7 separate regions of the Homo sapiens genome follow, and all the other regions are linked to region 3. Evidence: promoter capture Hi-C in 16 types of primary human blood cells and fetal thymus (Javierre and others, 2016). All regions are on one chromosome and are shown on one strand. The core of a region is centred on a gene start or on the middle of the fragment in contact, and the rest is flanking DNA. Distances in the headings are between cores, read along the strand shown. Region 1 has its middle 2.2 kb from the start of SPAG6. Region 2 holds the start of TRN-GTT2-3 (tRNA-Asn (anticodon GTT) 2-3). Region 3 holds the start of ARL5B (ARF like GTPase 5B). Region 4 overlaps SPAG6 (sperm associated antigen 6). Region 5 holds the start of LOC100130992 (a long non-coding RNA gene). Region 6 holds the start of BMI1 (BMI1 proto-oncogene, polycomb ring finger). Region 7 has its middle 25 kb from the start of DNAJC1.

What was found. Contacts are between HindIII fragments. The CHiCAGO score rates a contact against its expected background, and 5 or more counts as called.
Region 1: a contact is called between a fragment that was not itself captured here and the fragment with the promoter of ARL5B in region 3, in 8 of 17 cell types (total B cells, non-activated CD4 T cells, total CD4 T cells and 5 more). The highest score is 14.3, in total B cells.
Region 2: a contact is called between a fragment that was not itself captured here and the fragment with the promoter of ARL5B in region 3, in 3 of 17 cell types (monocytes, total B cells and total CD4 T cells). The highest score is 7.9, in monocytes.
Region 4: a fragment that was not itself captured here is called in contact with the fragment with the promoter of ARL5B in region 3 in 1 of 17 cell types (total CD4 T cells); the score reaches 5.5 in total CD4 T cells.
Region 5: a fragment that was not itself captured here is called in contact with the fragment with the promoter of ARL5B in region 3 in 1 of 17 cell types (naive B cells); the score reaches 5.1 in naive B cells.
Region 6: a contact is called between a fragment that was not itself captured here and the fragment with the promoter of ARL5B in region 3, in 4 of 17 cell types (fetal thymus, total CD8 T cells, monocytes and 1 more). The highest score is 9.5, in fetal thymus.
Region 7: a contact is called between a fragment that was not itself captured here and the fragment with the promoter of ARL5B in region 3, in 2 of 17 cell types (activated CD4 T cells and non-activated CD4 T cells). The highest score is 8.5, in activated CD4 T cells.

The regions. Positions count from the first base shown.
Region 1 is chr10:22,341,930-22,344,719 of GRCh38, reverse strand. No RefSeq gene overlaps it. Among named protein-coding and RNA genes, the nearest start is that of SPAG6, 2.2 kb to the left of the region's middle. The HindIII fragment of the contact is 688 bases long and covers 1,077-1,764 here.
Region 2 is chr10:22,226,933-22,229,775 of GRCh38, reverse strand. It overlaps TRN-GTT2-3 (tRNA-Asn (anticodon GTT) 2-3), which reads left to right and starts at 194; the gene lies at 194-267. RefSeq lists a silencer at 493-742. The HindIII fragment of the contact is 2,726 bases long and covers 1-2,617 here.
Region 3 is chr10:18,658,180-18,660,879 of GRCh38, reverse strand. ARL5B (ARF like GTPase 5B) reads right to left here and starts at 1,449. Exons shown (of 6, transcript NM_178815.5): 1 at 1,197-1,449. The coding sequence starts at 1,242. It also overlaps a transcript of NSUN6 not described here. RefSeq lists a silencer at 1,281-1,360 and enhancers at 1,671-1,800, 2,501-2,620. The HindIII fragment of the contact is 6,724 bases long and covers 1-2,406 here.
Region 4 is chr10:22,388,546-22,391,245 of GRCh38, reverse strand. SPAG6 (sperm associated antigen 6) reads right to left here. Exons shown (of 11, transcript NM_012443.4): 7 at 1,934-2,086. Among named protein-coding and RNA genes, the nearest start is that of SPAG6, 44 kb to the right of the region's middle. The HindIII fragment of the contact is 683 bases long and covers 946-1,628 here.
Region 5 is chr10:22,250,160-22,253,131 of GRCh38, reverse strand. LOC105376447 (a long non-coding RNA gene) reads left to right here. Exons shown (of 2, transcript XR_001747390.3): 2 at 1,199-2,972. It overlaps LOC100130992 (a long non-coding RNA gene), which reads right to left and starts at 1,060. Exons shown (of 1, transcript NR_038921.1): 1 at 1-1,060. RefSeq lists a silencer at 207-726 and an enhancer at 1,677-1,756. The HindIII fragment of the contact is 5,966 bases long and covers 1-2,972 here.
Region 6 is chr10:22,318,839-22,321,654 of GRCh38, reverse strand. COMMD3-BMI1 (COMMD3-BMI1 readthrough) reads right to left here. Exons shown (of 14, transcript NM_001204062.2): 5 at 2,637-2,696. It overlaps COMMD3 (COMM domain containing 3), which reads right to left. Exons shown (of 8, transcript NM_012071.4): 6 at 2,793-2,816; 7 at 2,637-2,696; 8 at 1,349-1,716. The coding sequence ends at 1,657. It overlaps BMI1 (BMI1 proto-oncogene, polycomb ring finger), which reads right to left and starts at 556. Exons shown (of 10, transcript NM_005180.9): 1 at 1-556. RefSeq lists silencers at 192-391, 582-751, 812-1,071. The HindIII fragment of the contact is 6,481 bases long and covers 1-2,816 here.
Region 7 is chr10:22,027,243-22,029,942 of GRCh38, reverse strand. No RefSeq gene overlaps it. Among named protein-coding and RNA genes, the nearest start is that of DNAJC1, 25 kb to the right of the region's middle. The HindIII fragment of the contact is 1,996 bases long and covers 302-2,297 here.

The DNA of each region.
Region 1 (2,790 bases), core at 171-2,670, 3.7 Mb before region 3:
TTCGTTATGTTGATGAATGACATCTCCAACAGAAAAAGAGAGAGAACCTTTACCTGGAAAACCAGACTTCCCTATCTTATATAACTTGAACCCTTTACCCAGTTTCTTTTAACAAAATTGAAGTACTTAGTCTATTACTGGTTTCTAGCTTGTCTTTGAAAACTATATACCAGTTGTTTCAATGACAGTTGTCAACTTTAAATGTTCCTCCATCAAAAACTACAATTTCACCAGATGTCAAGTGGATACATAGCCGCAGCTGCTGCTAAGTAGTGCCAAGACAGGAAACCCCTTGATATTTCTTCAACAGAAGGGAGCATGCAAACTTAACTGGTTCTATATTTGGAATGAGTCCTCTATATTTATCTTTGAGATCTCACCCTTCACTGAGCTCTTGATGAAGTCCTGATACTTTGTGGAGCTCCAAATAGTTGGGGAATGGTCCAGCAATCAGAGAGAAGAATAAGTGTGTTTAGTCGGGTCCCTAATACCCCCGAAGGGCAGGTACATGTCTTCTGCTTCTGCAGCTCAAAAGCCAGTGATGGCCACAATCTTTTTACTTAATTCAAAGTCGTAAGTTTTACAGTGATATCTATATTTCCCTATGGGAATATGTCCTTTAAAATTAAAGTTATGCGTTCCCATTTAGAGACGTGGGAGGAAACAGATTGAGTAAATAATTAAGATTGCAAATAAGCCTTGTAATTTTCAGTTCCTTGTTGAATGATGAAAAAAAATCCCCTTAAAAGTTTTTATATTTGGTTTCAGTCCTTAAACAAACAATTCAAACTCTTAAGCTACTCCAACTGCCATTTTTAGCAACTGCTTTACTATTTGTTTTCCATTTTAAAAGTGTTAAGAGCTCAATAGAGGGGGAGAGGTCTAAACCTATAAACATAACACAGTATGGGATGCTACTAAGTTCTTTGAAAACATACGTTCAAAAGCTATGTAAATTACTTTAGAGTCTGAGTATCTGTTATTAACAATATCTTTTAGTTAAATTGTATTATTCCTGATAAAACATAATATAGGATGCCTACTTCATATCTGAAATTGGACATATTAAAGAAGCTTGATCTTTGCTCTTTATTTTAGGTTCCTTCTTAAAAAAATCTTAAAAACTAAATGGAGAAATGTATGTAACACAGAGTGATTACAATATGCATATAAGTGAAATTATTAGTAATTCAAGCATAAAATATGGCAGATTACTTTTACTGACAAGAAAACCAATCTGTATTTTCTGACCCATTTTTCAATGTACTAACTCTAAAACAAAATACTATTCTGTTTTCTAAAGTTAAATGAATGTCCCATGATCACATACACACCTCTAAACTAACAGTTAAGCAATGAAAAAGAAAACAATTCAAAGGGATACTTCGGTATTTTAAAAAGTATTACAGGAAGATTACTGTTCTTAAAGTACCAGCTGACTTTAGAGATATACAATGTAACTGGCACATAAGACTATACATTTGATTGAGAATGAACCATTAGCTGAACAACTTGCAAAAAAGTGTTTCCATGAAAGGTTTGTTTGGAAGCCTTTGGCTACTTTTGTAAAACGCTAATCATAATATGTAACTTCAAAATCACTTTTTCAAATATTTCCTCCTTTATTTATGAAAATGAGACTGAAAATGACAACAAAATAAAGCCAGTTTTAAAATCTTGTTGTTTCTCTTTGCATACCTCCTTTGAGAATTCAGAAAATCCTATTATCATGGGAATATATGCTATACATACCTAAAAGAAGCTTTGCTAATTTTAACACCCATGTATTTTTTCTTCAGTTCCTAGCTGAATTTTAAAATTTAAAGATTTATATATGCTAATTAGATATTAATATCTGCATTTTAAAACTGTCATTGAGTTGAATCAAGTGTTTATATATATTCTGCATCAAGCCTAACACGTATTCATTATTAATGTGTGTCAAACACCTTGCTAATAACAGAATGTGCCTTTCTTCCAGGACATGAAGTCTAGTAGCAGATAGACATCACTTCATTCTACCAGCATATATACCGCAGCCTGCATTCATTCAATGGGCATGTACTGCAGTCTGCCACTGTTTTAAGGGCTGTAATTGCTCTAAGTGCTATTAGTGTTTTGGGGGCAAAGATGAGGGACTTATGGTAAAGTAGGCGAAGAAGTGAGAATACCTAAAACATCATTTAAATAACAAAAGGCTTCTTGTTTTTAATAAAAATTAGCTGAGTTCTATGCAGCTATGAAATTTCCCTCCCCTAAAATAATTTTTTCCCCAAAATCATTGTTAGCATTTAAGAAGGCATTCAACGGGCAATTGCATGTAATTACTGAAGTTATGAGACTACATTAATCATTTTGCAAACACTAAATTTAAAATTACTAAAATAATTCATAGTTACATACTGGAATTAAAAATAAAGGCATTACTTAGTCCATAACCAAGTTGGTGGAACAGAAATATTACCTATAATGATGAAAGTAAACATGACTATCTTAAATGGTGCATCGCGCCTCTTTTGGGAAATAATGTCAGGATTTTAGGTCTGAGCCGACCACCCAGTTATTTCATCAAGTTTGTCAGCAGAGCAGAAGAGACTTGCACACTTCCATCCGGGAAGGGAAGATTGAAATTTCTATGCATGTTTTGTGTTTATGCCTTACTCCCTATTCTTCGCTTTTCAAACCTTTTAAAGTCAACTCTTTGCATTTTAAAGTTTTTCTTTTTAGTATTAAGGTCAATGTCAAGATGACAGTGGTTTAACTGGCCCCAAACTCCTAAATATATACCTG
Region 2 (2,843 bases), core at 5-2,504, 3.6 Mb before region 3:
ATCTGCAATGCTGCTTGATTTTGTTGTATAATTTTGCGATATGCTTAAAAGGTGGAAAATAGAATTAAGAGGGTTGGAAACGTGAAGTAAAATATTTTGGTTCTGATAGTACCAATCAGAAAGCAGAAACAGCCACACACTGCCTTTATTATTCTTCATAAAGGCTGAGGCAGAAGGGGAAAATGACACCGAAGTCTCTGTGGCGCAATCGGTTAGCGCGTTCGGCTGTTAACCGAAAGGTTGGTGGTTCGAGCCCACCCAGGGACGCGCTCTCCTTTTATGAGCTGGTCGCGGGAAGTTTTGCAGAAATCGAGTTCAGGCCTCCGGGATAAGAAGGGGTGGATTTCCAGGGACCAAGCAAAGAAACCACCGACCCTTACACTACGCGGCCAGCCGGCGAGCCCTTCGCTTTCGGCCGGTGCAGAGCGGCCTCCTCTCCCCCGCTGTCCTCTCCCGGCTGCAGGTGAGCGCGGCCACTCCTTCCCCGGGGTCTTCACGGCGGTCTAGGCCTCGCCAGGGTGCTGGAGCGGGGACGCGCAGAGGCCGCGCGGGCCCGTTTGCCGCGCGCGCCCGCCGCTCCAGCTCTGCGCGTCCCCGGAGGCCCGCGCGTACACGGGGAAGGCGGCCCGGGCTGGTCTTGCTCGGCTTCGTGACGCGTGAAATGTAACGGGGCCACCGAAATGCATGTATTTCAACAGTGTCAAGTTCAAGCTGCAAACTGAAAACTCCTACATTTTGTTGAAGCATGGCCGCCCTTTTGTCTGTTCCCTGTCAGCGTAAACATCTCCGTTTGCGACTTAAACATTAATTGTTCCTGGTATTAATGCCTTCAGAAATAATTTTTGTGTAGTAAATCTTTCGTGTGGACAATATTGTAAGAATATATATTATATTTTACTTTTTCTACTAAAACGCTTGAATTTAGTAGAGAATAGAATAAGCCTGCAACACTTCCCATCAAGGCGGAAAAGGAGAAAACCTCTTTTACAATAGTATGACTGTTAAACCTGAAAAAAAAGAATGATGAGAAAGATTGAATGTGAAGCTGCTACCATACTTTGCTTCAACTTTCTACTTTCAACGTCCCCTACCTTTTATTTCCCCAAATGCAAAGCCCTCTCAAAATAGTTTCCTTCTATTTTATTACTTTGAGAAATAATCATAGTTTCATCATAATAATTATTGTTTTGGCTTGGACTACAGAAAATTGAAAGACAGTTTTGAAGAAAAGTGTAAGAACTAATACATCTTATTCCTGTGGATATATTGTTTTATATTCGTTATGTTTCAGCTCAGTTGACATATTAATAAAGGCTTATTTTATTGAGTGCTTTCGTGGAGAAAGGTATGTAATCTTCATAAGTCTTCCAGGTCCTATTATTGCCATTGTACAGATGAGGCAACTGAGGCACAGTGCGACTGAGTAAATAGCTGAGTAATTTGCCGGAAGTCACAGTGAGTTTGGAACCTGGGTAGTCAGGCCCAAGCCCAAGCTCCTCCCTGATGTACTGCCTTCTTGGAAGTTCCTTCCTCTAAAATACAGCTACCTAATTAGTTAATTTGAAACCAAAAGATACTTGAATTGGTTTTTATGAAGTTTCGTTAATATTTTGCTCCAAATCTTGTAAAGGGGGTAAAATAAAAACCAACACAACATTTGTGGCGTGCTAAAGGGCATTGTTAAATTATGCATTCATTGGGCTGCTCAATTTTATTCAAATGAAAGCTGTGTGTGCATAGGAAGTATTCCTGGGGAATCTGTCTTAGGGAAACAATTTGTTAGCATTTAGGTACAGAAGGCAAGATGAGAGAGAGAGGCAGGCAAAATCTGGAAGGAGACAGATTCAGGATAGATTCAGGCCATGGAGTCTAGAGACTAAGGATTCTTTGACCCCAAGCTGATGTTTGGGAATTGGCACATCCACGTAGACCCCTGTTTCAGGACACTTTTGTGAGATAGTACCAGAATTTGTACTTGACCAGGGGCCTAGGTGGCAGTTTAAAATTTGATCTTAAATTTCTAAATACATTCTATTTCACCCTATTTTGGGTATTAATATGATTTAGAGACCAGAAAATGGAGGAGAATTAAATGGGAATGGAGGTGTCACACTGAGTGCAAAACTCCCCTCTAATGTAAGCAGAAGCAGTTGCTGTGATTATGTGGACAAGTGCTTAGGCCATTTCCTTGGCTCTTGCAGGCAGGTAAGATAGGTGGGTCCCAGTGTGGGTGGCTGACACCGGTAGTCTCAGCACTTTAGGAGGCCAAGGCAGGAGGATTACTTGAGCCCAGGAGTTGGAGACCAGCCTGGGCGACAGAATGAGACAGCATCTCTACACAAAATAAAAAATTAACCCAGCATGGTGATCACTTCATTGCACTCCAGCGTGGGTGACAGAGTGAGACCCTGTCTCAAGAAAAAAAAAAAGGTAGGTGGGCAACAATTTGGAAGAATTGCACAAATATTTATGGATGCATTGGCCTTATAAAATTTCAACGTGTCATGGTTGTTGATGTTGCAATAAATGCTATTTCTGAGGAGCATCTTTTTGTCCTTAATTTCTGGGCTCTGTAATACCAGCCAAACCTAGATATATGTCAAGATCATTTAAAGCTTTAATTAAAGGCTGAATAGCATTTAAAAGGCTATGTTGTATATTTGAGTATGTAAATATGTTCCTAATGTTGCTAATAGAGTTGTATACTTAAACTGCGTATACACAATCAGAGGGAAATTCACTGAAGTAACATAATAAAAGGTGAACCAATTGCTATGATTTAAAAATAAAAACTCATTAGAGAATGTACTATTCATCTAATTCAGAAAAGGACAAAACAGATA
Region 3 (2,700 bases), core at 200-2,699:
AAAGACTCTGCCTCAAAAAATAAATAAATAAAAATAATATTTTAAATGTATGGATAATACCCACAAAGTGTGAAGCTCTGCTCACTTTGAAATCATTTGATAAGTAATATTATCTGTGGTTACTGGATACAGGCATATACATATATATACACATGTGTGTGCCTGTATCTATATTTATAACCTTGAAAAAGACTGCTTTAGTGTTCTTATCAATCTACAGAACAAGTCAACTAAAGCCATTCCATTACCTCCACAACTTCTTAAATCCAGAAAAAGATTAGATACCTACATTAGCAGTAACAAATTGGTACCAACATAAAAGGAAATAAAACTGGCTTATTAACGATGCCCGGCTCTTAAATGTAAAATGAAACGAGTTGATTTTCAAAACTGGTTTCAATTACTAAGAAACCATTCTGTTCAAAGGACGCCTCAAACTTTAACTTATCGTCGGCCCCTTTTTTGGTCTGGGTGTTTTCTCTCTTCAGAAGACATCACATCTCATTCTGATTCAGAACAGGTTTTGCAACTTCTCGGCCCTTTGGACCTGCCACTTCCAGGTGTCTCATTACCTGTTACAGACTAATTACGGACACGTAACGTCTTACACAAAACCGAAAAGCATTTAGTTTCTGAACTAAATGCTTTAAAAAAAAAAGTTTACAATGAAGATGCTGGAAAACTCGTGCATCTGAATAGGACAACTCATTCCCAAGTCCTAGAGGAAAGGAGGCGAAATCAGAGTGAAAGTGCACTGGCTTACGGCTCAAACTGCAGGGCGGGAAAACAAAGCACCTACATTACTCAAAAAAAAAAAAGTTCTAGGTTTCTGGGCGGACACTTATCCTGGGGATACACATAGACACAAGCACGCTTCAATAAAGACGAGAAAGGCCCTCCATACGCCTCCTGGCATCATTAGCTGTATCCCGCTTTACTTCGCCAATATCCAAACATTCTCAGTTTGGATTCTGGGACGCCAAATACCTTCTCTTCTGCCTCCCTATTTCTCCCACACGTCAGGTCTCTCCTGTACGTCCTCCAGGTCTAAAACACTGAGTTTCTGCCCGCCCCCTGGCCTAAGTCCCTTCCTCCTCCGCGTCTCCGAACGCTCTGTCCCCTGTCTCCGGTGTCCCCATCGGCGGCGGGACCCTCTGCCTCGGATTCGAGCCGCCGCGCAGCTCCATTCTTCTCACCTTGGTTACAGAAGAGGCTCCACAGTTTGGCGAAGATCAGCCCCATCACGAGCACCGGGGCGGGCCGCGGGGTCCCTCGGCAGCAGGTGCCGCTGCGCCGGGTCCCCCACCGCGGCGCGGGCTGCGCGGAGCCGAGGAGAACCCGCCTGAGATCGCGCAGCGAGGGCACTGCTAGGCCGAGAAGCCTCGACCCGACCACTCAGAAGGCGCCGCGACGAATCCCCACCGGACAGCCCTTTGTTTCGAGCCCACTGAGCCCAACGCCGACCCGTAGTCCCCTCGGTCTGTACCCACCTACCTACCACAGCCTCTCCACAGCCCCAAGCCCCGCCTCCACCCCGCCTCCCCTCCGGATCCCAGGACCACCCATCGCCGGAAGCTAGGCGCGTGACGACGGCGCACTTACGGCAACCCACGCCTTCGACGTGGCGTTTTCTTCGGTTTCACTTCCGGTAGGAGAGTCCCAAACGGCCAGCGGCTGGGAATTTGCGGTATCGCGGGGGGGTGGGAAATTTCCCTTGGTGCGTGCTCCTTCTGATGTCAGCCTTCAAAACGTTTGTGGGACTCCCCTTTGATTTGAGTCTCTGCTGCTAGCAGCTGCTTCCCTGACCTCTAAAACCAGGAAAGACCATAGGTTCTCTAAGTGAGCAGCCGCCGTTTGCTGCTCTTAGAAAACTCACAGAAGTGAAGAGTGTTTCTTTCCTGACTTATTCCTGTTCCCCTAGGCAGGCGTGCTAGGGGTTAGGAGTTCTGCCGTGATTCTTCTTCATTCATTTATTAATCTATTCATTCACGTATTCATTCATTGGCTTATGCATTTATGTACTCATTGATTGATTGATCGATTGCAGACGAGGTCGGGCTGTGTTGCCCAGGGGGACTCAATTTCCTGGGCTCAAGCGATCTTCCTGCCTCGACTTCCCAAAGTGGTGGGATTGCAGGCTCAGCCACCGCGCCCGGCCCCTGTCGTGATTCTTAGTTCTGAAAAGAATTGATTGGGAGACGAGCCATGGAAGGCCTGGAGCCACAGAGTTCAGTTATGTGATTAATAATAACACATAATAATAACACATAGCACCCCTCTCCATTTTGCCAAGCATTAGGTATGTTCGTGGATCCCAGATCGAAGTCCACGCATAAGCCAATTCGCTGTGTAATTGTTTTCAATTCCACTTTCCATGGTTAGGTTCTAGCATTGAAAAGAAAAGCTTCACAGCCTGGCATGAAACGAAACTGAATGTCCTTGAAACCAGTTGACGGAGGAGCAAGCTTAAAATTTTTTTAGACTCTGACTTCAGTCAGATGGTTGGATTTTAACCTTGGCAACGTGGCCTTTTAACATGCCAAACTCTTGAGTTAACCTGTACAAGGAGAATGTATGACTTACGTCCTCCCAGTGCTATGGTTTAAAGACCCTTTAAGACTTAGATGCAGGATAATATGCTCCAACGTTACAACATTAAAGGCAAGTTTCAACCTCCTATGTAGAGGAAAAAGAATGTAC
Region 4 (2,700 bases), core at 38-2,537, 3.7 Mb before region 3:
TCACTAACACCTTTCCTGAAACAGTACATAAATAACTTTCCATCAATTATGGTCAACTTTTAAATTATAGTTCTTTCCACTTTAACATGACTGAATGTCAAAACAACGACTACTTTTGTTACACAGCACATGCTTACATTTTGCATCTTATGCTTCAATTTTATCTAAACAATAAAAACAGAATAAACTAAAGAGCCTCAAATACATTACATTTTGTATACCCAAGGAACAATTTTAAAAAATCAAATTCTAATTCCAAATTCTGTACAGGTGTAATTTTCTGACTAATTTGAGATTATGGTAATCACCTTAAATTTGGTACCACAAAAAAAGATCACATGGTTATGCTACCACAGCAAAGGCCAGAATCATCATATATACTTTTATTCTTTGCTTTTTAATTTGGTTATTAAGACCAATTTCCTGAAGAGGTCAGCTATATTTCTTCATTGGCTTCTTTCCTACAACTAAAAATGTATGTCTGCCAATATTAAAGGTCAGACCTGTCTTCAGAATGAAGCAACTTTCCAGAAAGCCCACATGTCCAGGATGTAACAAGACTGAAGAAACAGGAGGAAAAGGAGACAGTGCCTCTACTCCATCCCTGAAGCTCTGACTTGTTGGCCTCAATTATAATGAATAACAAATAAGATAAGGAATGCAAATTTGCTTTAAAATTACTATTTAAATGTAAAGTATTATTGTTAGTCTTTATAGTACCACACAGGAAAAGCAGAGAGTGCTACCATACTATGTGGCTTGCCCGAAACTGCTGGAGTTTCAGCAAGCAACACCTTGATCTCTATCTGAAAAACAAACCAAGTGGGAAAGGCCAGCAGCAACCTTAGACCAAAGAAGGGGAGAGCTCCCTGGTTAATTTCAGGAAGGCATATGGGAAGCAACGGCAATTGCTTCTTCTTTCATCATTCTTCCCATGCATAAGCTTCATGACTATCCACAAAAGAACCAAGGATCAAAAACCTAGTAACATCCTTACCGTGACCCTTCAGAAAGCACCACTATTGCTCTAGTCACTATCACAGTCTGTGGTAGTAGAAGAACAAAAGGAAAAGAGCAGGATAAAAGGGAGTAAAGCAAAGAATTATCAAGAAATAGGTAGAAAATAAAGATCTGAGGCTCCTTTTTATTCTGAGGATTAGTAAGGGATAAAAAAAATCCACATTTCTGTTTAACATACAGCAGCAGGTTTTCTATGCTGATAAGAAACCCACACCCCAGAGGGTCACCGCACACACTGTAAGCACACAGGCTTTGAAGCATTCGTCCAGAGATCAATATTTATTCATTAGCACACATTTCGTAAGCACCTACTATGTGCCAGGGCTGCACTAGATGAGGGGTTCTTACAAAATTGTGAACTGAGATAAAGCAAAAGCCCTAGAGCAAGGAAACAAAAACACTGACATGTGCTCTGAATTGCCTAAATCTAAGAAGAGAAATAGTTAATAAAAGCTGAAGAAGAGAAAGTGGATAAAAAGGGATGTCCTAGCCATTGTCATCTCCCACTGAAGTGGCAGGAAATGGAGGGGTATATAGACCTCCCAGAATACTGAAAATGACTACTGGGCATGTCATTTACAAATAGGTGTTTCTAACCAAGGTAAGCTTTACATGTTTGTAGATATGTACAATTAATCCTTCAAGATACAAATAAACTTAATATTTAAATACAGATAATACTAATGCTCAAAATAGTTGATATCCTGTTGATGAGAAACGCTGAGTAAAACTTTAAACTTCCCATTACCTTGCTAATAAAACTTGCTAATAAGCATTGAAACAATCAAAATTTTTTTCAGGTAATTTTTTTGCTCCAGTCAGTTATATTTTGTATTCTGTTGGAGAACATTAATCTGTGGTTCTGTCTTAGAATTTCTTACTGCAACTGGAAGAAAACGAAGCAAGAACAAACCTTAGAAATGATGACTGCCATTGCTAGGTTCTCAGAATGAGCTGCTACATAACCAAGCATCATGATGCCAGGCAGCCGTGTGTTCCCTTTGCAGGACCCAATGCAGTCAATCACGGCAGCAACCCCTCCTGCGTTAACTACCAGCTGTGAAAGCTAAGCGATGGGAACAAGAGTTAGATCACCAGGACCCTATGATGGTCTTTAAATACAGTTTAATATTGCCACACTCTATTTAGAACCTAAAAACAACTGGTGAAATTGAATTATCATTTAGTGAAATTATTATATTTATTAAAGAAATATACAAGTACAATAAACCTGCTAGTTCAAATGCACAAACTGTGAGGAGCTTTACTCTGTGGTTCAATTTTTCATGCATCGATGGCACAACTTTTATCCCTATTATAATGGATGTCAAAATTCCTCATGTAGACTCTAAGCCTAGGGCTGGTTCATAACTAACTACTGAAACCCCCCCATCACAATGGGTGAGTATGAAGCAGATTAATCACTGAATGGTGAAAGACAATGTCGGACTTGAAATATTCTAACCTAATTATTCCCCCTTTGCTAGTAATGATTACTAGCTGAGTGCACTTTAATTTTGAAAAATCTCAAGCAAATAAAGATGTTAGATGAAATAAACAATGAGGACTTAAAGTTTAATGAAATAAAAATTGATTAGTCAAAATATACACAGAAAAAAGATACTTCAGAATCAACACAGGCTTGCTTTCTCTCTATTTCTTTCCCATCTAGGAACTCAG
Region 5 (2,972 bases), core at 442-2,941, 3.6 Mb before region 3:
GCTTGCGCCTCTACCCGAGGACCGAGGTGGGGATTCGACAGACGCCAGCGGTGGGGATCCGGGGCGAGAAGCCCCGACTTTCTGAGTCGTGAGCCGCCTCCAGTCGCCCCAGGACGTAACCCCGAGGAGCTTTCAGACACTGGCCGCGCCTAATATCGCTGAGAACCGCGAAAACCGGAGTTCCGGCCGCCTCCCGGACTGGCGTCCCGAGGCCAGGGGACCCGCTTGGGGCTCCCGGCCGAGCCCCGACCTCGGACGTTTTTCCGGGAGCCGCGAGAGGCCTGGGGGCCTGGGCCAGGCGCCGCGGCGGGCATCGATCGCCGGCTCCCAGAGAGTGGCCCCGCGCAGGTGGAGGTGACCCCGTCACCTCCAGGAGCGCCCCCAAGCCCCGGTACCCGCAGCGTGCGCCCTCTCCTCCTCCCCGAAGGTTAAGTTCGTCTTTTTCGGTTCTCGGTTACGCATCCCCTTGGCACGCATGCCCAGCCACACCGTGGGCGAAACTAGAGGGCCCGCGTCCCCTGGGGGCTGCCGCGGGGCCCCGAGTGAGGTGTCCCCTCCGGGCCGGGCCCGAGTCGGAGGCCCCCTTTGCAGCCTAGAGGAGCGCGGGGCTGGCGCTGCGCAGGAACCGCCAGGCCGGGGAGGGGGCCGCGCCCGGGCCTGGGCCAAGAGCGCGCGTCCCCCGCCCGGGCCCTGCGGCCCTCCCCAGGTGTCTGAGCAGAGCTGCTGAAGCTGCAGAAATGTGCTGGCGCCTGTCCACCGCCGCACACAAAACCCAGCCAAAAGCGGCGAGAGGAAAAGCGAATATGGCGCTGCTGAAAATGGAGACTCCGCATCTAGAAAGTCTTTCTTTCCTTTCCTCTTTTCGCTCTTACTTCGTCGATCTTTTCCCCCTTGCCCTCTCACGAGGGCCTCCTGCGCTTTCCTTCGGGTGTTCTCTACCCCTCGGCCCCTTTCCTGTTCTTATGAATAACCTCCTTTACTCGGTTTTCCTTCTTCCTTTCCACTCCCGGTTCCTCTTTCTCCATTTTGTGTCACAGGCGCCTTGCTTCTTGTTCCCTTTCAGGGCGCGCACTCCCCCGCCCGGCTCACTTTATTTTGTGTGTGGGTGGCGGAGCAGGGAGGGGGTGGCAAGGATCGTGAGGCTAAGTATCGAGTTTGTTTGTTTGTTTTTCTTTCTTTCTTCTTCTTCTTTTTAAAGGTGTTATCTTAGGAGCCAAGCATCTCCTTTGGTCCTGCGCTCCTTCGCCTAGCGCCTGGTGCCCCCCACCCGGCTGCATCCGAGGCTTGCGCGGCCCGGTCCCATCAGCCGAGCGTCGCCCGCCCAGGAGGAGGCTCGGGTTCTCCGCAGAAGCGAATACTTTCTCTTTTTGTTTTAAGTTAGAACCTTGCTTTTGCAGTGATTCGTTGCTGTGGCGTGATTTTAAACAGGTGAGAAATCGGAGTCTCATTTTCCCAGGGGGGCTTCCAATGAGGATTTTAAGAGAAGCGTGCAAAGAAGACAGCAATGTCCATCTTTTTTTTTTCTTGTTTTCTTTTGAACAGAGGGAACCCCCACGCGCTGAGATAGTTATGTTTTTAAGGCTAAACTTTTTTAAAATTAGTTTTTCTTTTACACTTATGGCTGACTTTTGATCCTTTTAAAGAAAGGATGAAGTCAAAACAGATTAATGCTTTTGAATACACAACGTCCCCACGTCCCCAAATTGTGGTGCTGGGATAGTTCCTCTAAGATGCATTCTGATTTTGAAGTTCAAGGTCTCTAAGCGCTGTTAAGCGGAACCATGAAAAATACGTTGCTACATTAAAGATAAAACAGACGGTGATACTGACTGCAGAATCGTAGTAGAAACTTTTTTTTTTTTTTTGAGGCTGTGCAGGATTTGCCTTGGTTTTATTAGGGAACCTGCTAATAGAAGCAATTTCAAGTGACGGGCTTCCCTCAGTAAAAAGCTGGAAGCAATGACATCTTTTCTATCTGAGTGACTCTCCTTAGTCGTGGTAAATAAATAAATAAATAAATAAATAGATAGATAGATAGATAAATAAATAAATAAATAAAAATTAGTTTACATGCAGTGTTTGAAAAGAAAATGATTTTGCTTCCCAAGTTTTTATGTGTTTTCTTTTTTACCAACTATATTTCACTTTATTTACAATTGTCAGTTTATTCTCACACCTTCTGGTTAGTTTTATCTTCTCACCATGGTCTGTTAGAACCCCATCCTCGAGCAAAAAAACAAAAACAAAAACCACCCCCCCAAAACAAACAAACAAACAAACAAAACAGGTGTTCATCCCTGTGAGATGCTAATGCCCCTGGAACTGTTTGAAAAGAGCAAAATTTTGTAAGGAGATTCTTTTCAAAAAGTGTTAGAGAAGTATTCTTCAAAAACATCTTAGAATGTTTCCTTAAAAAATTTCCTTTCTTGGTTTTCATTAATTGCCTTTGATTAAAATTAGGTTACAAACATATCTTAATTTCAGACTGTTTCTTTATAAAAGAAAGGAGAAAGTAAATAGGTGTTGGCAAGGACTAAACCAATGCAACTAGGCCCTGTTGAGAGCCTAAATCTGTAAACTGGTACCCTTAAAAAACATCAATCAACTTGAGGTTCGTACAGGTAGTTCTTTGACTCAAACAGTTGATTTTTAAAAGTCTTATAAAATAGGTTAAAATGTGTTTTTAGTCCAGGTTCCTACTTCTTTGTTATGCATTTCTCCTCGTAGATAAATAAATGAATCTAACTTGATGAGTAGGTAGATTTTTCTCCAGAAGAACTTTCTAAAAATGGGCAAAGTTAGGGAAGTGATTAATACCCTTCAGTTTAATTGGAATTATTCAGTGCTTATACCAAGTTAATCCTATTAAGATGCTATTTCCTGCTCAGGGGGATAAATTAAGCACAACTTAGATTATTTTAGGTGGACAACTGGTATATAGTCTAAGCAATGGGGGCTGGAAAAAAGTATCT
Region 6 (2,816 bases), core at 231-2,730, 3.7 Mb before region 3:
AAGACAATGAAAGTTAAAAGTCGTTCAGCAGAAAATGAATGCGAGCCAAGCGGCCATCTTGAAGCGAGCTGCAGACGCCGCTGTCAATGGGCAACCAGCGCGGCCCCGAGCAGCCGCGGCCGCCACGCTCGTCTCATGCCGCCTCCGGCCGGCCTCCTCCTGCTCCGGCGCCTCGGCCTCCTCCGGCGCCTCGGCCTCCTCCTCCTCCGCCTCCGCCTCGACCTCCAACGCCTCCTCCTCCGGGGCCTCCTCCTCCTCCTCCTCGGCCGCCGCCGCCTCCTCCCGCTCCGCACTCGGGGGAGGGCGCGCGCGGAGGGGGCGCGATCGGTTTTATTCTGCGGGGCTGGGAGGTGCTGCTAAGCCGGAACGGGGCTCCCGCGCCCACATCCCCATTGTCTCGCCCCGATCTCTGCCTCTCATACTACGATTATTTCATAGTTGCTGTGGGGGAGGCGGGCGGGCGGGGGGCGCCGTGTGTGTGCGTGCGAGCGGGGGGAGGGGAGGAGGGGGAGGGGAGGGTGGAAAAAAATGCACCGCTGAAGGCAGAGTGGAAACTGACACCGGCTCCAAAATGGCTCGGAGTCCGCCCGCCCCCTCCCCCCGCCGCCCCCCCAGCGGGTCACGTGCTCCCCTCATTCCTTAAGGGCGGCCTGGGAATTAGTGTCGGTGTAGTCAGGCCCGTGGCCGCCCCCTCCCCTCCGCGCCGCGCGCCCGGCCCCCTCCCTCGCTCCGCGCCGCGGCGGCGGAGACATTTCTCCACAGCGCCACACGCGCCGCCCTGCTCCGCGCGGCCGCCGCTCCGGCCCCGCACGCCGCGCAGCCCACCCCGCCCCCCGTTCTTTCTTTCTCCCGGCCGCCCGCCTCCTCCCGGGGCGCATACGTCCCGCGGCCGCCGCCCCCCGGCCGGCCCCGCGGGCTGCGGCCCAGGCTCCGGCGCCGCGGCGCGGAACCTGCGCCCAAGTTGGGCTCGCGGAAACAACAGCGCCCGCCCCTGCCCGCCAGCCCGCGGCCGCGCCGGCCTCTTCCCCGCCCGCGGGCGGCCGAGGCGGGGCGCGCGCGGGCGACGGCTGGCTCCGGGCAGGGGCTCCGCGCCGGGCCGGGACCGGGCGGCCGAGGGTCGGGCTGTGGGCGAGCCCTCGGGCGCAGGTAACGGGCCGGGCAGCCGCCCGCGCCCGCCCCCGGAGCCCCGAAGCAGGGGTCTGCGACAAACCCAGGAGATCGCATCGTTTCCTCCGTGTTTAACTTTAATCCTGAGAAAAGGCTATCGTTAAAAGTTCACACTACTCCTATCTAGCTTCACACAAAGTAATAACACACGAACTCAGATCCAAACAAAATATCATCACTCTTTGTGGAAAACAACACCTTATTTATTCAGGGTGTAATACTGTCTACTTCCTTTCAGAAGACTTGAAAAAGATCAAAATAGGATAAATGGACAGTTACTACTAAACGATTCAAATACTTGGGCAGTATCTTTCCCTCTTAACCCTTTCACACGTTTTTAAAGTGTCAAAATTGATGAATGGTATAAATTCAAAAGGAAAATTCTTTTCTACTGAAAAGGACATCCAGCTCGCACAAACGGTGGTTCAGCTGAAGGCAAGGCGTTTCTGGTTTTCCTCTGCACTCGGGCGGATCGTTAACTTCCCCAAGTTACAACTGAGTTGCTCTTTCCAGGCTTTTCGAAGCATCTTTAAGTTTCCCCACCAAGTCCTAAAAGACGTGTATACAATACCACGTTTTTAGGATAAAACATGGAAAGAAGTATCCAAGCTCAAGAAAGATGCAAGAAAAAAAATCAGGACACACCTTCCAAACAAGTTTAAAATTCAACAAGATTTTAACTTTTGACAAACTACTATCGGGCAAAAAAAGCGTTTCCTCGGAAATACCTCATGTTCAAATCGGTTATTTGCCCTCACACTGAAACATGATTTCTAACCGGATCCTTAACCGCCCAGATACATCTGAATTTTCTCAAGTTATCTAACAAAGGTTATGCTGTATACACATTTTCTGAAAGTTGAAAGTTTGATTCATAGTTACATTAAAACGACTCTGCAGAAGATGCCTTTGAAAAATTCAATTTCACTTAAATTTCCAGTAATGAGCTTCATTTTTTAAAAACTATGAAATAAATTCGTTGTCATATCCACTAATAAATGTAGTTTTGAATTTTCCCAGTCTTAAATGGGCAATATAAACAGTTTTAGAATGTTATGTATACTTCCCCCTTTATAAAGTCATTTAAAAAGTTTCAAAATCCAATTTTGACAGTTTAATTCAATTTCTGAAAGCAAAGACATTTTCAAAGCCATGCTCTTAATTTTGTTTATCTTATTGGACCAAACTCATCATGAATAGAAGAAATTTACACTAAACACTACAGAAGTTTATTTCAATCAGCAAGAACAGCAAATACAGACCAATTCTCTATTAATAACATCTTAATTTCAAGTGAAGCCTATCTTAAAATACTACTTTTGATGCCCCTTTCCCATTAAATCCTTAACCAATCTTCATTATCTGCTGACAAATGGTTAGATTAATTTTCTTTTGAACTTCCCAAGAGTATAACTCTCAAGTAAACATTTATAAAAAGACAGGAATATTTATAGATCCTAATACTGTACCTGTAATTGTTCCATGCTGCAACTAAAACTAATCTCTGGATAGGATGGGGAATCAGTGTTCTAGGGCAGGAAAAAAAACACGCAACAAGAAACGCTGTTTATTTAAATCAATGAAATTATAAATTTCATTATTGGATAAGACTTATCTATAAATACCTGTACACTTAAGGTCACCAAATA
Region 7 (2,700 bases), core at 50-2,549, 3.4 Mb before region 3:
ATAAGCTATCTATCTCAGAAAATTGTGAGTTCTTGATATTTTGAAATTATTAAAGGATTTGCCTTTAGGAGCTCTTTTTGAAAATGTTCAATTCTCAAATTTCTAGCTTTGAAACTATATCATGCACTGATCTACAAAGGCTAATTGCAATCAAGCTTACTTCTACTGAATGCTGATCGATGGTGAGTAACCACGATAACACTGATCAAGGGACAGCGTTCTATAGTTGAATGAGTCACTCCATTTCTACCAGAAAATAATTACATAAGGTCTAGAAACGTGTCTCTCCCAGTAGAAAGCTTTGTAATGATCTAGTGCGGAGGGAAGTAAAAGTACAAAACAAGATAAGAGCCACATATGAGGGTGTTTAATCTCTGTGCCAAGTACAGAAAGGAACTCTGCTCTATGGTTTTTATCTGTGAATCTAGAAGCAGCTGAGGCGGTGAACCTCAGTGTATGTGTAAATTTCTATCGTTGTTGGCTTTCTCTTCCAATAAAAGCCTTATCTGAATTGAGCTGAAACAGCTTATTTTCATCCATCCCATTTGGGTCCAGTTCCAGAAAGAGTTGAGAAATCTCATCCTTGGAGTAGACTTGAAAAGAGACCCACCTGGATTGTATTTATATGTGCATGGTAATCCCACCTAGACTCCTCTGAGAGCTGGCAGGTTCTCCCCTTCCTTCTGACCATGCCAAGTGACCTCTTACCACACTCAACTATGATAGCTCATATCTAACTTTTCTGTACTGTATTATTATGTATCTACTACATCTGCAACAGATACTTTCTCTGGGACCAAACTTTTGCTTTAAAATGATAGGACCAGTCTCAGAGAGTCACCTATTGTCTGACTCTATTTCCATTGCATTCTTTTTTTAAAAAACACCTTTATTGAGATATAGTTCACGTGCCATGTAATTCACCCATTTAAAGTGTACAATTCAATGGCTTTTAGTATATTCACAGAGGTGCAACCATCACCACAATCAATCTTAGGACATTTTTATTAAGCCCTCCCTTCTAGATCACTTAGCCATCACCAAAAATTCCCCCCATCCCACCCAGCCCATGGCAACTACTAATCTCCTTTCTGTCTCTACAGATTTGTCTATTCTGGACATTTCAAAAAGAAATGGAGTCATCCGTTGTGTGATCCTTTGTGCTTGGCTTCTTTCACGTGGCATATTTTCAAGGTTCATCCATGTTGTGCCATGTGTCAGTACTGTCTTTTAATTGCCAAATGATATTTCATTGAATGATATACTCCATGACACTCTTGAGATGACATTATAGACTTAGAGAACAGATGTTAGGAGTGGTGGTTTGGGGAAGAGTTGACATGACTGGCTATGAAGGAATAAAGAATAACATGAAGGATCGTTGTGATAGAACCATTATGTAACTTAACCGTGGTAAAATTGCATAGAACTAAACACACCTACTTATGCATACACACACACACACACACACACCACACATACACAAGTGAATGTATGCAAATCTGGTAACAACTGAATAAAGTCAATAGTTTGCAGCAGTATAAGTTTTCTGGTTAGGATATTGTACTCTAGTTATGCAAGCTGTTACCATGAAAAGAAACTGAGTAAAAGGTATATGAGATTTCTTTGTATTACTTCCTACAACTGCAGGTGATTTCATAATTTTGTCAAAATAAAAAGTTAAAAAAATAATACTGGGACCTGGACAATAGTTCAAGGATGGCAGAGTAAGAACCTCTGAAAATTTATTTCTCCATAAAAGCAACAAGAACACTGGCAAAAAAAAAAAAACAACTGTCAAATTCAACTTTTCATAACTCTGAAAATTAACCAAAGGCTTGCAAAAATTTGAGTGCTTAGGCAAGAAAAATGGCTGAATCCTGGTAAGAACAGGAGGCTTGATGGCATTTTAACCTACTCTGTCCTCATGCTCCTCTCCCCAGCTCTAGAGTAGCCTTGAAAACAAAGAGAACTGCAATCATGGTGAAAGCTAACAATCTAGAAGCCACTGGAGGGAACAGAATGTTGAAGCCCCATTCCTAGATAATGGTCATTACGTGACCTGTCTGGCAGGTTCCTGGAAAATCTCACTCATAAGACTTGTCTTTATTCGACCCGACTCAGGGAGCACTCACCATGAACAGCATTTTACCCAAAGGTATTTGTCAAAAACAATTAGTGGCAATTATTTAACATTACAGCTGCACGAGGCTTGTGATGATAACAGCTAGGACAAACAACAAGCTGACCAAAAACTTAAAAGGAAATGCGGGAGAATAAGATATTAATAATAAGCTTTGAAAAGCTCTGATATATTCCTGGGAAACTAGAAGGCTACACATATGCACAGGGCTGTGTGCATGCGCATGCCCAGGAAATTGCTGAGATGGTCCTAAACCCTCGCCTCTGGCTAACTATCAGTCTCTGTGCAAGCAGAAAGTGAAATTTGAAGCAGAATTGTAAACTGCCTGTCTGAACATTGGAGGCAAATCCCAATATGCACACAACACCCCTCAGCAAAGGCTGGCAGGCTTGTTGGTTCCAAGAGTTTAAGGAAATCTCTGTACAGTCATTAACTGCCCATTAAGATAACCAAGAAGAGATATCAGTGGTCACACATGAAAAAAAAATCATACTTTGGAGAATGAATTCAGGAAACTCACTAAAAAACAAATAGCAAAAACAAACCCTGAGAATTGA